3 separate regions of the Homo sapiens genome follow, and all the other regions are linked to region 1. Evidence: promoter capture Hi-C in 16 types of primary human blood cells and fetal thymus (Javierre and others, 2016). All regions are on one chromosome and are shown on one strand. Each heading gives the region's core, a stretch centred on a gene start or on the middle of the fragment in contact. The rest is flanking DNA. Distances are from core to core; before and after follow the strand shown. Region 1 holds the start of USP31 (ubiquitin specific peptidase 31). Region 2 holds the start of ACSM3 (acyl-CoA synthetase medium chain family member 3). Region 3 holds the start of DCUN1D3 (defective in cullin neddylation 1 domain containing 3).

Region 1 (3,903 bases), core at 744-3,243:
GAGCTGAGATCCCGCCACTGCACTCCAGCCTGGTTGTTAGAGTGAGACTCCATCACACACACATACACACACACACACACACACACACACACACACACACACACGACATTGTTTAGGTATAAAGTTGCCAAATAATCAACCTGTTATATAATGGCTACCTTACTGGGTACCGAATAATGAGTAAGATGGGTCTCTACTGGGTTGAAGCCCACATATTAGTGAAGGTGATGATTGTAAACTGAATTGCAATATGGTCAAGTCAGTGTCATGAATGAGAGGTGCCAAGAGGGCCTGTGGAAGGGACATCTCCTGGAGGGGGTGATATCTAAGGTGGGACTTTAAGGATGAGGGGAAGTTAGCTAAGTAGAAAGGTTCTAAGTTAGCTAAGGAAAGGTTCAAGGGAGAGGGAACGGCTCCAGCAAAGGCCCTCGAGTCTAGATCAAACTGCCCAGAAGTTGAGGGCCATTGCATTCACATTTTAGTGTGAATAATCAGATGGCTTTCTTCCTGGTGTCCAGATAAGAATTTTGACTAAGAGGAGAGTGGAGCCGATTAGGGACAGTGCAGAGCACCCTGGAGATGTCATCATAGAGCCCTACTTACATTGGGGAGGGAGGTCAAAGGTAAAAACCATTTACTTTGAAACGTGGTGTAAGGTGGCCTTCATGTTTTAAAAAGGAGGAAGGGCTCTCCCTTCTCTGATTTCTCTCTTCTGCCTCAGGACTCAGACTAGCCCTTTTAGCAGAGGGGAGCCTATAGAGAGGAGGTCATATACTAGTTGATTTTGGACTAAAGGCATCCCAAAGATGTACTATTTTTTGCTCCCTGCACTATTTTTTTTTTAATGGAACCAACGTTTAAAAATAGGATTTCTGCCTTCTCTTAAAACATCAGATGATCTGGTAACGCTGAGCTCCTGTTCTCACATGGGAACAACTGGCTGGAGCTGAGTGGCAGCCACCTCTTTAGAAAGATGTTAATTTGAAGTCTGCTATAGTCCCCATCATTCCTTATATTTCCCCCAACACTGAGACCCAAGTCACTTGAAAGTCAATATGATGATTCAAACACCAGGATTCTTCACTCATTTGTGGGTTTGTGACCTGTGATATTTGTGGATTCGTGACCTTTGGTTTAGAGGTCAAGTATAGGGGTTGTAAATAAAACTTGGGTTTGAATCAGATAAGAACTGTACCAATCTCAAAGACGGTGAATTAAAGATTAAAGAAAATATTGCATGCTTGGCATAATGTGTGGAACACAACAGCTATTGTAAACACCCAGTAGGAATGTAAGCTGCAAGAGGGCAGGTAGAAACCGTGCTAATTTAATCCGCTGGGGATATGACATTTGATTCTAATTTAATAGGTTTAATTCTTTGCAATATCCCCAGTAACTGCTGAATGAATGAGTGAGTGAATGAATGAATGGAATGATGAATGATGGGAGAGCCCGGAGGAGTTTTAAAGGCTGGAATGAAAAGGAAAGTAGTTATGATAACAGCGTTTCGCTGGGACTCCAAGGTGCAGCCAGGAAGAAAAGCCCGCTGGGACGTGCCAGGGTCTGTGACTGCGCTCCGCTGGCACCCAGAGGGTAGGTATCTGCAACGTCCCTTGGGAGCCAGACAGGGCTGACTTGCCCAGGACCTGTCAGGGCCATGTCCACCAGCTCTTGCACGGTCTGGTAACTGACAGCATCCTGATTCCTGCACGTTCCCGCCTCTGCCATCTGACCAGCAAAGACAGAGACCCACCCCGGGGATCCACCATCCAACGGGAGCCCAGCCTTTTCCTCCAAGCCGGGACGGCGCCCACACTAGACATGGCCTCCCTCGGGCTTCACGCAGCAGGACCGCGCCCGCAGCCTCCAGGCATCGCGTCCGGCTGGAGAGGCAGCTACCGTCCCACAGTGAACATGGCGGCCGAGGCGGCTTCAGCGCCGGGCGGGCGGCGCCGGGAGGCACGTCACGTGAGCGGCTCAGCTGGGCGGACCGCGCGCGCGCCCGCTGGCCCCGCCGGCCGCCGCTCGCTCGCTGGCTCGGCTGCGCTTTGAGGTGTGTGGGGCGTCGAGCCCCCGGGCCCGGTGAGGCGCGGCGCTGCGGGATGCGGCGGCGGCCGTGGCGGGGCCGCGGGCCGGGCGGGCGGGCGCGGTGATGAGTGTCTGCGGCCGCCGCCATGTCCAAGGTAACGGCGCCTGGGTCCGGGCCGCCGGCGGCGGCGAGCGGGAAGGAGAAGCGCTCCTTCAGCAAGCGGCTGTTTCGGAGCGGCCGCGCTGGCGGCGGCGGCGCGGGGGGCCCCGGGGCGTCCGGGCCGGCCGCGCCTTCCTCGCCCTCCTCGCCCTCCTCTGCACGCTCGGTGGGCAGCTTCATGAGCCGCGTTCTCAAGACGCTGTCCACGCTCTCGCACCTTAGCTCTGAGGGCGCCGCCCCAGACCGCGGCGGCCTCCGCAGCTGCTTCCCGCCCGGGCCGGCCGCCGCGCCCACGCCGCCGCCGTGCCCGCCGCCGCCCGCCTCTCCCGCGCCGCCCGCTTGCGCCGCCGAGCCGGTGCCCGGCGTGGCGGGGCTCCGCAACCACGGCAACACGTGCTTCATGAACGCCACGCTGCAGTGCCTCAGCAACACCGAGCTCTTCGCCGAGTACCTGGCGCTGGGCCAGTACCGGGCGGGGCGGCCCGAGCCCTCGCCTGACCCGGAGCAGCCTGCGGGCCGCGGCGCGCAGGGCCAGGGCGAGGTCACTGAGCAGCTGGCGCACCTGGTGCGGGCCCTCTGGACCCTGGAGTACACCCCGCAGCACAGCCGCGACTTCAAGGTGAGCCCGCGCGCCGCCGCGCCCCCACTGCACCCCGAGCCCCTGGGGCACCTGCCCGCCCAGGTCTTCCTTCCCTCGGTTCCTCTTGGCCCGGCAGGCTTCTGCATTGGTTGCTCCGAGTGGTCTGGGCAGTCGACCAGTGATTTTAAGGAGATTCATTCATTCATTCATTTATTCACTCACTCACTCACTCAAACATGTATTTATTGAGAACTTACTACATACGTGCCCATACTCTGTGATAATAGGCAATGGGAGTGACGTTGCAATGAACAAGACTATCCGCCTTCATGGAACTTGCATTTTTGTGGGGTGGGAGTGTTGAGCATGGGTTCAAATCCTGGTTCTGCCACTTACTAGCAATGTGACGTCGGGTAAGTTAAGCAGCCTCTCTGTTCTTACAGTTTCTTCATCTGGGGGACCTACTTTGTAAGGTGGTTGTGAGCTGCAAACAAGTTAATATATTAAATCGAACACTGTGGAATTACCCATATTTAACCGTTTTTTATTTACAGATTGGCACTTTTATAGGGTTCAACCTGATAAGTAAAATACTTCCATATCATGTGTATTTGCTGCTATTATTTTTGTTATTAAAGACTTGAAGAAGTTAACGAGATAATATCAGATAGTGGTTTGAAGAAAGAAAAACCTGCTGCTGTGATTGATGTGCTGACAGGCTACTTTTTATTTTTATTTTATTTTTAGAGACAGGGTCTTGCTCTGTTGCCCAGGCTGGAGTGCAGTGCTCACATAGCCTCAAACTCCTGGGCTCAAGCAATCCTCCCGCCTCACCTTCCAGAGTATTTAATAGCTGGGACTACAGACACACACCACCATACCTACCTATTTTTTATTTTTAAAACACTTTTGTAGAGACGGGGGTTTTGCTGTGTTGCCCAGACTGGTCTTGAACTCTTGTCCTCAAGCCACTCTCCCCGCTTTGGCCTCCCAAAGTGCTGGGATTACAGGGGTGAGCTATACATCCCTGGGGGTATGTATGGCCCTTGGCCAAGCCCTCCTTTGCTGTTTGCTGGTGGGGCTGCAAGTGTAGTGAGAGGGTGAGATTTGAGAGCCGAGTGGTGGGCTGGGACCG
Region 2 (3,903 bases), core at 595-3,094, 2.4 Mb after region 1:
GACGTAACATTTTTGCTGAGATCTGGCAAGTGGTTGTACTGTTAAGCATTTTGCAGTTATTTATTAGTATTTTCATTTTACAGACAAGGAAGTATACACAAACAGACACACATATTTAAATTGGACAACGCATTTATTCATTACCCGTGTATTTATTGAACACTTGGTATATGCCAGACCTGTACTAAATGCTGAAAATATAGCTGTGAACAAGACACGGCTGGTCTTGCTCCCATGAAGCTTATAGACTATTAAGGAAGACATTAAATAATTATGTAAATATTAATATGATTGGAGATAAATATATCATACTTAGCTTGCTGATTCTGAATAGAATCAGAGTTTAGTATGATTTGTTCCCTAGCTCCCATACAATACTCTACACCACATTCAGAATCCTTCAAACGTATGTTGAAAAGAAAATTGATCAGTCATTTGGAGCTTAAAATGAACCTAACCATTCTGTTCTACCAAAAAGCAAATATCGACATCCTCTTCATCAAAACCATAAGATTACCTTCTCCTCAACAAAGTTCTTTTCCTCCCTTTTCATCGATCTTAGCATTTTACAACTTCTATTTCCCAGGTTTATAAAATTATTTGTAGGTAAAATTGCTGAGATAACTTTCCCAGGGTGACTCCAGATTTTTATACTGAGCCACAGAAACATTGGTAAGGAAAACTCTTCTAAGAAAGACAGTACCACCCCTGGTCAGATAGGCTTCTGAAAGTATTTAAGGTCTCATCTGAAATGCAAGCTCTTTGTCCCTACAGCCAAGGGGGCTTTAGCCTCCCCACAGCTCCCTAAACATCCCTCCCTCTAAGTATCCAAGTAATAACAGTAGTTTAACATATACAGCCTCAACGCAAGGTAAATTCACTGCTGTTGTCTCCAAACCCAACCAGACCCTGCCTGAAGCCCCTCCTATACAGAACTTTTGCAGCTGCCCTTGACCACCTAAAGGAGAAAACTGGCTGCTCTTAGGTTTGCATCTGTGTTTCCCAAAGTTTCCTGGAAGTAATTTACATACTTTCTGGATGATGCAGAAGATGGATTCCCATCTGTCACTGAGCAAGGTGGGGAGCTAAGCAGACAGTACAATGAAAATCTCAGCCACTACCTGGTCTTTTTTTTGAGATGGAGTCTTGTTCTGTCACCCAGGCTGGAGTGCAGTGATGCAATCTCAGCTTACTGCAAACTCCACCTCCCAGGTTCAAGTGACTCTACTGCCTCAGGCTCCCAAGTAGCTGGGGTTACAGGCACCTGCCACCACACCTGGCTAATTTTTTATTTTCAGTAGAGATAGGGTTTCACCATGTTGGCCAAGCTGGTCTCGAACTCCTGGCCTCAAGTGATCTGCATCTGCCCACCATAGCCTCCTAAAGTGGTGGGATTACAGGCTTGAGCCACCGCATCTGGTTCAATTAAAATTAAAAAAAAAATTTATCAACTTAATACATGTACATAGTTTTTCAAAAAATCAAATAGCACCAAAAGGCTCAACATGAAAACTCAGCTGCTACATTTATAGCCTTTTGTGTGTGCATACTCCTCATCACTTAATAGATAGTATCACACAACTGAGAAATTCTGAGAGAAACTTTGGCTGCCCAAGACTTTAATGACAGCATTTTTGATTGTTGGTTTTGTTCATCTGTTTGTTATCTTTGCTCAAAAAACAGATGTGCCAGTTCAGGAAATCTTACACAGGAGGGGAGATGAGGTACTCACTAGTTAACAGATTCCAACACAGATGGAGATTATGGCAGACTTGTTTCTTAGAAGAGCAGCCCTGAACCTTGAGTTCTCACATCTGCTTTTTCCTCGTGGCAGTCTAAAGAAGAGGGAGGAGCAGTCTGACAATCCGGAGGAGCAAGACTGGCCCAAAACACTTTCCTTGATTGGTGGAGACATTCTGGAGGAGGAGCCAAGCTCTGGGCTAAAGTTTACAGGACTCCCAGCGGTTCCTCTTACAGGTAATGATTTACAGAAACAGCAAGCTTTTGAGGGGCGGAGAAAGCAAATTATTAACAAGAAGGAAAGTGTCCAAGGAGTTGCCGAAGTGGTTAGTTCTGTAAAGGGGCAGAGAGAGCACTTCTCAGAAGGAAGAACAGATGGAGGAAGCCATAGAGGAGTTTTGAAATTGAAAGGAAAGAAGTTGAGGGGCGGTTATGGGTTGGCCTAAATCTCATCAAGCCCATTGGTGCGTTTATCTGTCGAAGTGGCAGGACTAAACATAAACGCTATCAGGTTACTCCCCTGCTCAAATCTTTCAGTGCTTCTTTTTCCACTCCAGGTAAAATCCGAGTCCTTACATGAACTGCAAGGAGTTGTATGATCTGGCACAGGGTCCTCTGATCCACAGCCCATTCTCCTTCCTCTGCCTCACTCTGCACAGCCACCGGCCTCCTTGCTTTTTCTCAAACACACTTGCCTGTTTCAGCCTCAGGCTTTCTGAATTCACAGTTTCCACTGACTGGAACTCTTTCCTCAGATATCCCCCTGGCCAAATTCCTCATTTTCTGAGGTGTCTTATTAAATAACTCTTCCCTTACCTCATTTTCTAAAGTAGCACTCTTCATTTTTTCTCTTTTACCATTTTTTAACTTTTTACATCTCTTACTATCACCCTTGAGGGTAAGAACTCTTTTTGTTTGATGGTGTATCTATTGCCTGGAATAGCTACTGGCAAATTTTAGGCATTCAATAAATAGTTGATGGATATGTGAATAAATAAAGGACTCTTTCAATTACATGTGAGAGACCCAACTTTACTTAAAGAGGAATTTGTTGGTCACTTTTGAGTTCTAGGAGTCTTTTGTTGTTGATTCCTTGGGATTTTCTGTGTAATCACATTACCTGTAAATAAGTAAACAGATCTTACTTCTTTCTTTCAGATCTATATGCGTTTTATTTCCTTTTCTTGCCTTATTGCGCAGGCTAGAGTGTCTAGCTCTACGTTGAATAAGAGTGATGAGAGCAGACATCCTTGCCTTGCTTTTGATCTTAGAGGGAAAACATTCAGTCTTTCATGGTTAGGTACAATATTAGTAGTAGGTTTTGTGTAGATGCCCTTTATCAAGTTGAGGAAATTCTCCTCTATTTCTATTTTTTTCTGAGTGTTTTTATCATGAATAGGTGTTGAATTTTGGCAAGTGTTTTTTCTGCATCAGTTACTATAAGCATGTGGTGTTTTTCTTCTTTAGCCTGTTAATAAGATAGATTACACTGATCTTCTAATATTGAACCAGCCTTGCCTCCCTGGAATAAACCTTGCTTGGTCCTGTTGTATATTTCTTTTTCTGTATTGCTGAATTCTATAGTTATGTCTCTTGACAAATTTGAGAACTTTTCAGCTATTATTTCTTGGAGTAAATTTTTAGCCCCCATGTTAGATCTTTTATGATAGTTTCACAGGTCCCTGAGGCTCTGTTCTTTTTTTTCTTTTTTTTCCCATTCTAGTTTCTTTCTTTTGTTCAGGTTGAGTAAATTCTGGCTTCCAGTTCTTTGATTTTTTTCTTCTATTATTTCTATTCTGATGTTAAGCTCATTATTAGAGACAGGGAAAAAACAGTGTTTTTTTTTCTACTCTCACATACCATTCAGCATAATGTTAGCAGTGGTGAATCCATACGGATCTACAATAACTTGATTCTTGCCTCTTCAAAGGAAAGAATTCATCCAAGAGGCATAAGGCAGAGTGAGAGACTGAGGCAAGTTTTTGAGCAGGAGTGAGAGTTTATTAGAAAGTTTTAGAGCAGGAACCAAAGGAAGAGGGGCAAGCAGGCAACTTGAGAGATCCAGGTGCCCTGTTTGACTTTTGACTTTGCGTTTTATACATTGGCATGCTTCCGAGGTTTTGTATCTCCTTTGATTTTTTCCTTGGCATGGGCTGTCTGCAC
Region 3 (3,903 bases), core at 733-3,232, 2.2 Mb after region 1:
AACTTCATTTGACTTGTTAATAGACTTATCAAACTTAATATGTTCAAAAGAGAACTTTCGATATTCCTTTCTAAACTGTTTTCCCGTAGGGAGTTAACCTTGGTTCCTCCCTCTCCTACACACTTCACATCCAATTCCCCAGCAAGTCCTGCAAGCACTACCTCCCAAATATATGCTGAATGGAATTCTCTCCATTTCCACTGTGACTGAGGGCCTTTTCTTTTTTCTTAAGACGGAGTCTCACTCCGTTGCCCAGGCTGGAGTGAAGTGGCGCGATCTTGGCTCACTGCAACCTCCACCTCCCGGGTTCAAGCGATTCTCCTGAGTAGCAGAGATTACAGGCGCGTGCCACTACGCCCAGCTGATTTTTGTATTTTTAGTAGAGATGGGGTTTCACCATGTTGGCCAGGATGATCTCGATCTCCTGACCTCGTGATCCGCCCGCCTAGGCCTCCCAAAGTACTGGGTTTATAGGCGTGAGCCACCGCGCCCGGCCGGCCCTTTCAACACTATCTTCACCTCTCCTTTGTCTTACAGTGCAACAGTCTCCTAACAGGTCTAACTACTTCCACCCTTCTCTATCCAGCAGGCAGAGCGGATTTTTAAAAATGTAAATCAGGTCAGGTCACTTCCCTTCTTAAAACCCTTAAGGTACACATTAGCCAAACCCCTGCCTTGGGCTAAAAGGCGCTGCTACAGTCATGCCACTTCCCCAACTACATCACAGGGCACTCCGGCCCTGGCTCTGTTTGCTTCAGCCACATGGCCTTCTGGCTGTTTCCAACCTAAAAGTCCTTCTCATTGGCTCTTCTCTCCACCCAGAAAACCCATTGTCTCGGATCCCCGCAAAACCGTGGCCTCCTTTGAACGACCTTACCCGATTTCGAGGGGCCCTCCCCCCATCTTCTGTCACCTCATCCGGTCTTTGGGGGGCATTTCTCACTTGCTGATACCTTCTTTATTGATTTACTTAACTCTCTCCTGCACACGAATGGAAGGTAACGGAGCAACACCCTACTCTCAGGTTTGAAGAGCAAGAGAATTACGAAGCTGGCTCTCACGGTCCTAGGGAGTCTCCGTTCCTGTACGGGACCTGGTGTGGGTCAACGTTCCCCAGCCAGACACCTCTCGCCCCCGGACCGGCCCCTACCATCTCCCATTTACATTCGGGGGTCCAAAAGATTCACAGCCTCCGAGGGGGCCCCACGCCGGCACCTGAGCGTCCCCACACCAGGCCTCCCCTCTTGGACGCGCGAGCCACTTCCGTGAGGCAGGTCCCCGAGGCCGGTGGCGATGACACCGAGCCGCCCCCGCGAAGCTGGGGTCACACAGGCCCGTCTCCCGGCAACGCCGCAGCCCAACCTCCAAACCATCCCTGCCCGTGGGGAGCCAACCCCTTCCCCGCCAGTCTCCCGCGCCTGGAGTCGGCGCCTCCATCCCCTACACTCACTCTGCGTCAGTCCTGCCTTCCCCCACCCACAGAAGCGCGCAGCCCGCGGCGGGCTGGGAGGAGGCGGCGCCAGGAGCCCAGCAGAGCCGTGGCCGACCGAGCACAGGCTGGTCCAGTAGGCCAGGCCGGACCAAACCACCGGGCCCACCTCTGTGGGAGCACCAGTTCCAGGTCTGGGGGAGTCTCGACTGACTGACTCTACCCATCTCCCGCCGCATCCAACAATAAGCTGAGCTCCTCCTCCCCCTATTTTTCCTTTACGCTTTCATTATCCTCCCCGCTCCATTCCCGTAAAACAAGAAAAAAAAATGGTCCAGCCCAGCTCCCTCCGGGTTGCTAGGTCTTTGCCCTTACTTGGCGACGGCTTCGTACGTCTTTATGTGCGTCGTGACGCAATCTTCCACTCGTTCCCTCCTTGCCCCTCTCCCATTCTCCCTCCTGGAGCTGGCGGCCGGCGGGGTTACCGGAAGTGATGATGCAGGAGGCGATGGAGGGGGCGGGGCTTCGGGGCGGCCGCCGCCGGTGGGCCGCAGATGAAGAGGAGGCGGTGGCAGTGGTGGAAGAAGAGGCGGCGGCGGCGGGGGTAGGGAGCCTGGAAACGCGAGCGGGGATGGTAGGTGGTTTGGACCCGCCGGGCCGCCGTCGTTTCCAGAAAGGGTTTGACTGGAGGAACCTCTGGAGCAGCTGTGAGTTTTGGGGAGGGGGGGAGTTGAGGAAAAGGCGGGGGGGCATTGAGAGATGAAGGGGCGGGGGTTGGGTACCTTCGAGAAAGGGGGGTGGAAAGGGAGGAGTGGAAGTCAGCGCGTTGTCTGGAGTGGTACCTCTGAAAGAAGAGGCTGTGAGGGGAGCCTGTGGCGTGTCAGCCGCAGGGCTCAGAAAACTTACCTACTGTCCCTGCCTCCCCACCGCCAGCACCCCTCAACCCAGGGCCTGGGGATATGGGGTTGGAGCTGCCCTGGAGGGGGTGCAGACTCTGGTCCTCTGTCCTGGGTGAGCGCTGTGAGGTAGGAGCCCTAGGGGGAGGTGGTGGGTGAATCTCCCAGCTCCCTCCGCCCTCATTTCCCTCCCCACCCCCATCGTTCTCTTTAATCATTAACAGCCCTGGAATTAAGGGGCTCAGACCTGAAGGCCTTTTTGTGCACCTTTGCTATAAACGATAACCATCTGTGTCCGAGGTAATGAGGCTGGAGGCTTTGCCTGTATCCTCTATAGGAAGTGGGACGGGGTGACAAATGTATTGTTTGTTCCTCCACCACACCCCCCGCACTTCTCACCCCTCATCCTCCCCCATGCACACCCCTGGTTTCCACTTTAATTCTCTGTGGCTGAGTGGCAATAGTGGATTTTTTTTTCTTCCCCTTTCCTCCTTTATGGCACTTAGTGCCTTGGTTACCTCTTTTGAATTTGGTGTTCAGCCTCTATCCCAGATCTTAACTGTAAGCTTTGTAATACTTCATACAGGCTGTCACGTTGGGAGTACCTCTTACGCTCCGATTATAATGAGCATTTTCTTTTATGAATACTGGAATTCCAGAGCCTTTGCAAGGAATCCTGAATGGCATCATAGCCCAGGAATCAAGGTCTCTTGCTCGAAATACTTTATGTGTGAGGAATTTACATGTTGTCAGCTCTTCCCAAAATGATTTGCTAGGCTAATTCTGGATTTCTGTGTTTCTCTCCACCCACTTTTCATGATGCACTTCAGAGAACAGAAAACCCCATATTACTTTTTTGTTTCTACAATTGGACAATAGCTCTTTTATGTTTTTCTCCATTTATGTGTGACACACAAATCATCAGTGACACGTTCAGCTTGTGCTGATTTTCATCTTTACGTAGCTGATTCTTTGTGTATGGGGGTCCTAAATGAGACAGTGTGATCTGTTTAGTTTTGGTTTAAGGGCGAATACAAACCAATAACGGATGTGAAAAAATTATTTGAAGCAAAGAATGGAAAGAAGGCCTCTTTGTTGATATGCTGTTGGTTTAAAAAAAATCAAGGAGCACTCTTCTAGCCTCTCAGACAGATATCAGAGTGAAGTGTTATGATTTTCCTTTTGGTGTTGATACATTCTTCGGAAATCTTTTGTAGAATCTGAAACTGTTTTCTGAAGAACTTTAAGAGATAGTGCCTACATTTTCGGAGTCCTTTGATTAGAAAGTGCCCGTAAGTCCTGTCCTTCTGTAACTGAGCTTGATATGCATAGTGCTAGGAAGATCTGATGCTAGGAAGTCCTATTCAGGGCTTTCGGGCCCTAAAAAACAGAATATTTAATGCTTGATTATACCAGTAACAGCGTGTTTAGATGTTTCACAAAAATACAACAGAAGAATGACTACTGTTCTCACTTTAACTGATTTAGAACCTAGTTTGCCATTGACTAAAAAGTTCACAGTTCATTAATTCAACAAACATTTATTGACTCCTAAGTGCTAGCCAGTGTTTCAGGCAC

The links. Contacts are between HindIII fragments. The CHiCAGO score rates a contact against its expected background, and 5 or more counts as called.
Region 2: a contact is called between the fragment with the promoter of ACSM3 here and the fragment with the promoter of USP31 in region 1, in 1 of 17 cell types (activated CD4 T cells). The highest score is 5.0, in activated CD4 T cells.
Region 3: a contact is called between the fragment with the promoter of DCUN1D3 here and the fragment with the promoter of USP31 in region 1, in 6 of 17 cell types (non-activated CD4 T cells, activated CD4 T cells, total CD8 T cells and 3 more). The highest score is 13.3, in non-activated CD4 T cells.

The regions. Positions count from the first base shown.
Region 1 is chr16:23,147,542-23,151,444 of GRCh38, reverse strand. It overlaps USP31 (ubiquitin specific peptidase 31), which reads left to right and starts at 1,993. Exons shown (of 16, transcript NM_020718.4): 1 at 1,993-2,807. The coding sequence starts at 2,175. RefSeq lists an enhancer at 1,593-1,812 and silencers at 1,993-2,092, 2,243-2,292, 2,393-2,492, 2,623-2,852. The HindIII fragment of the contact is 4,661 bases long and covers 1-3,903 here.
Region 2 is chr16:20,761,955-20,765,857 of GRCh38, reverse strand. ACSM3 (acyl-CoA synthetase medium chain family member 3) reads right to left here and starts at 1,844. Exons shown (of 14, transcript NM_005622.4): 1 at 1,733-1,844. RefSeq lists an enhancer at 1,578-1,707. The HindIII fragment of the contact is 1,761 bases long and covers 243-2,003 here.
Region 3 is chr16:20,898,437-20,902,339 of GRCh38, reverse strand. It overlaps DCUN1D3 (defective in cullin neddylation 1 domain containing 3), which reads left to right and starts at 1,982. Exons shown (of 3, transcript NM_173475.4): 1 at 1,982-2,136. It overlaps LYRM1 (LYR motif containing 1), which reads right to left and starts at 1,569. Exons shown (of 4, transcript NM_001128302.3): 1 at 1,451-1,569. RefSeq lists enhancers at 592-1,377, 1,378-2,163, 2,373-2,422. The HindIII fragment of the contact is 5,697 bases long and covers 1-2,893 here.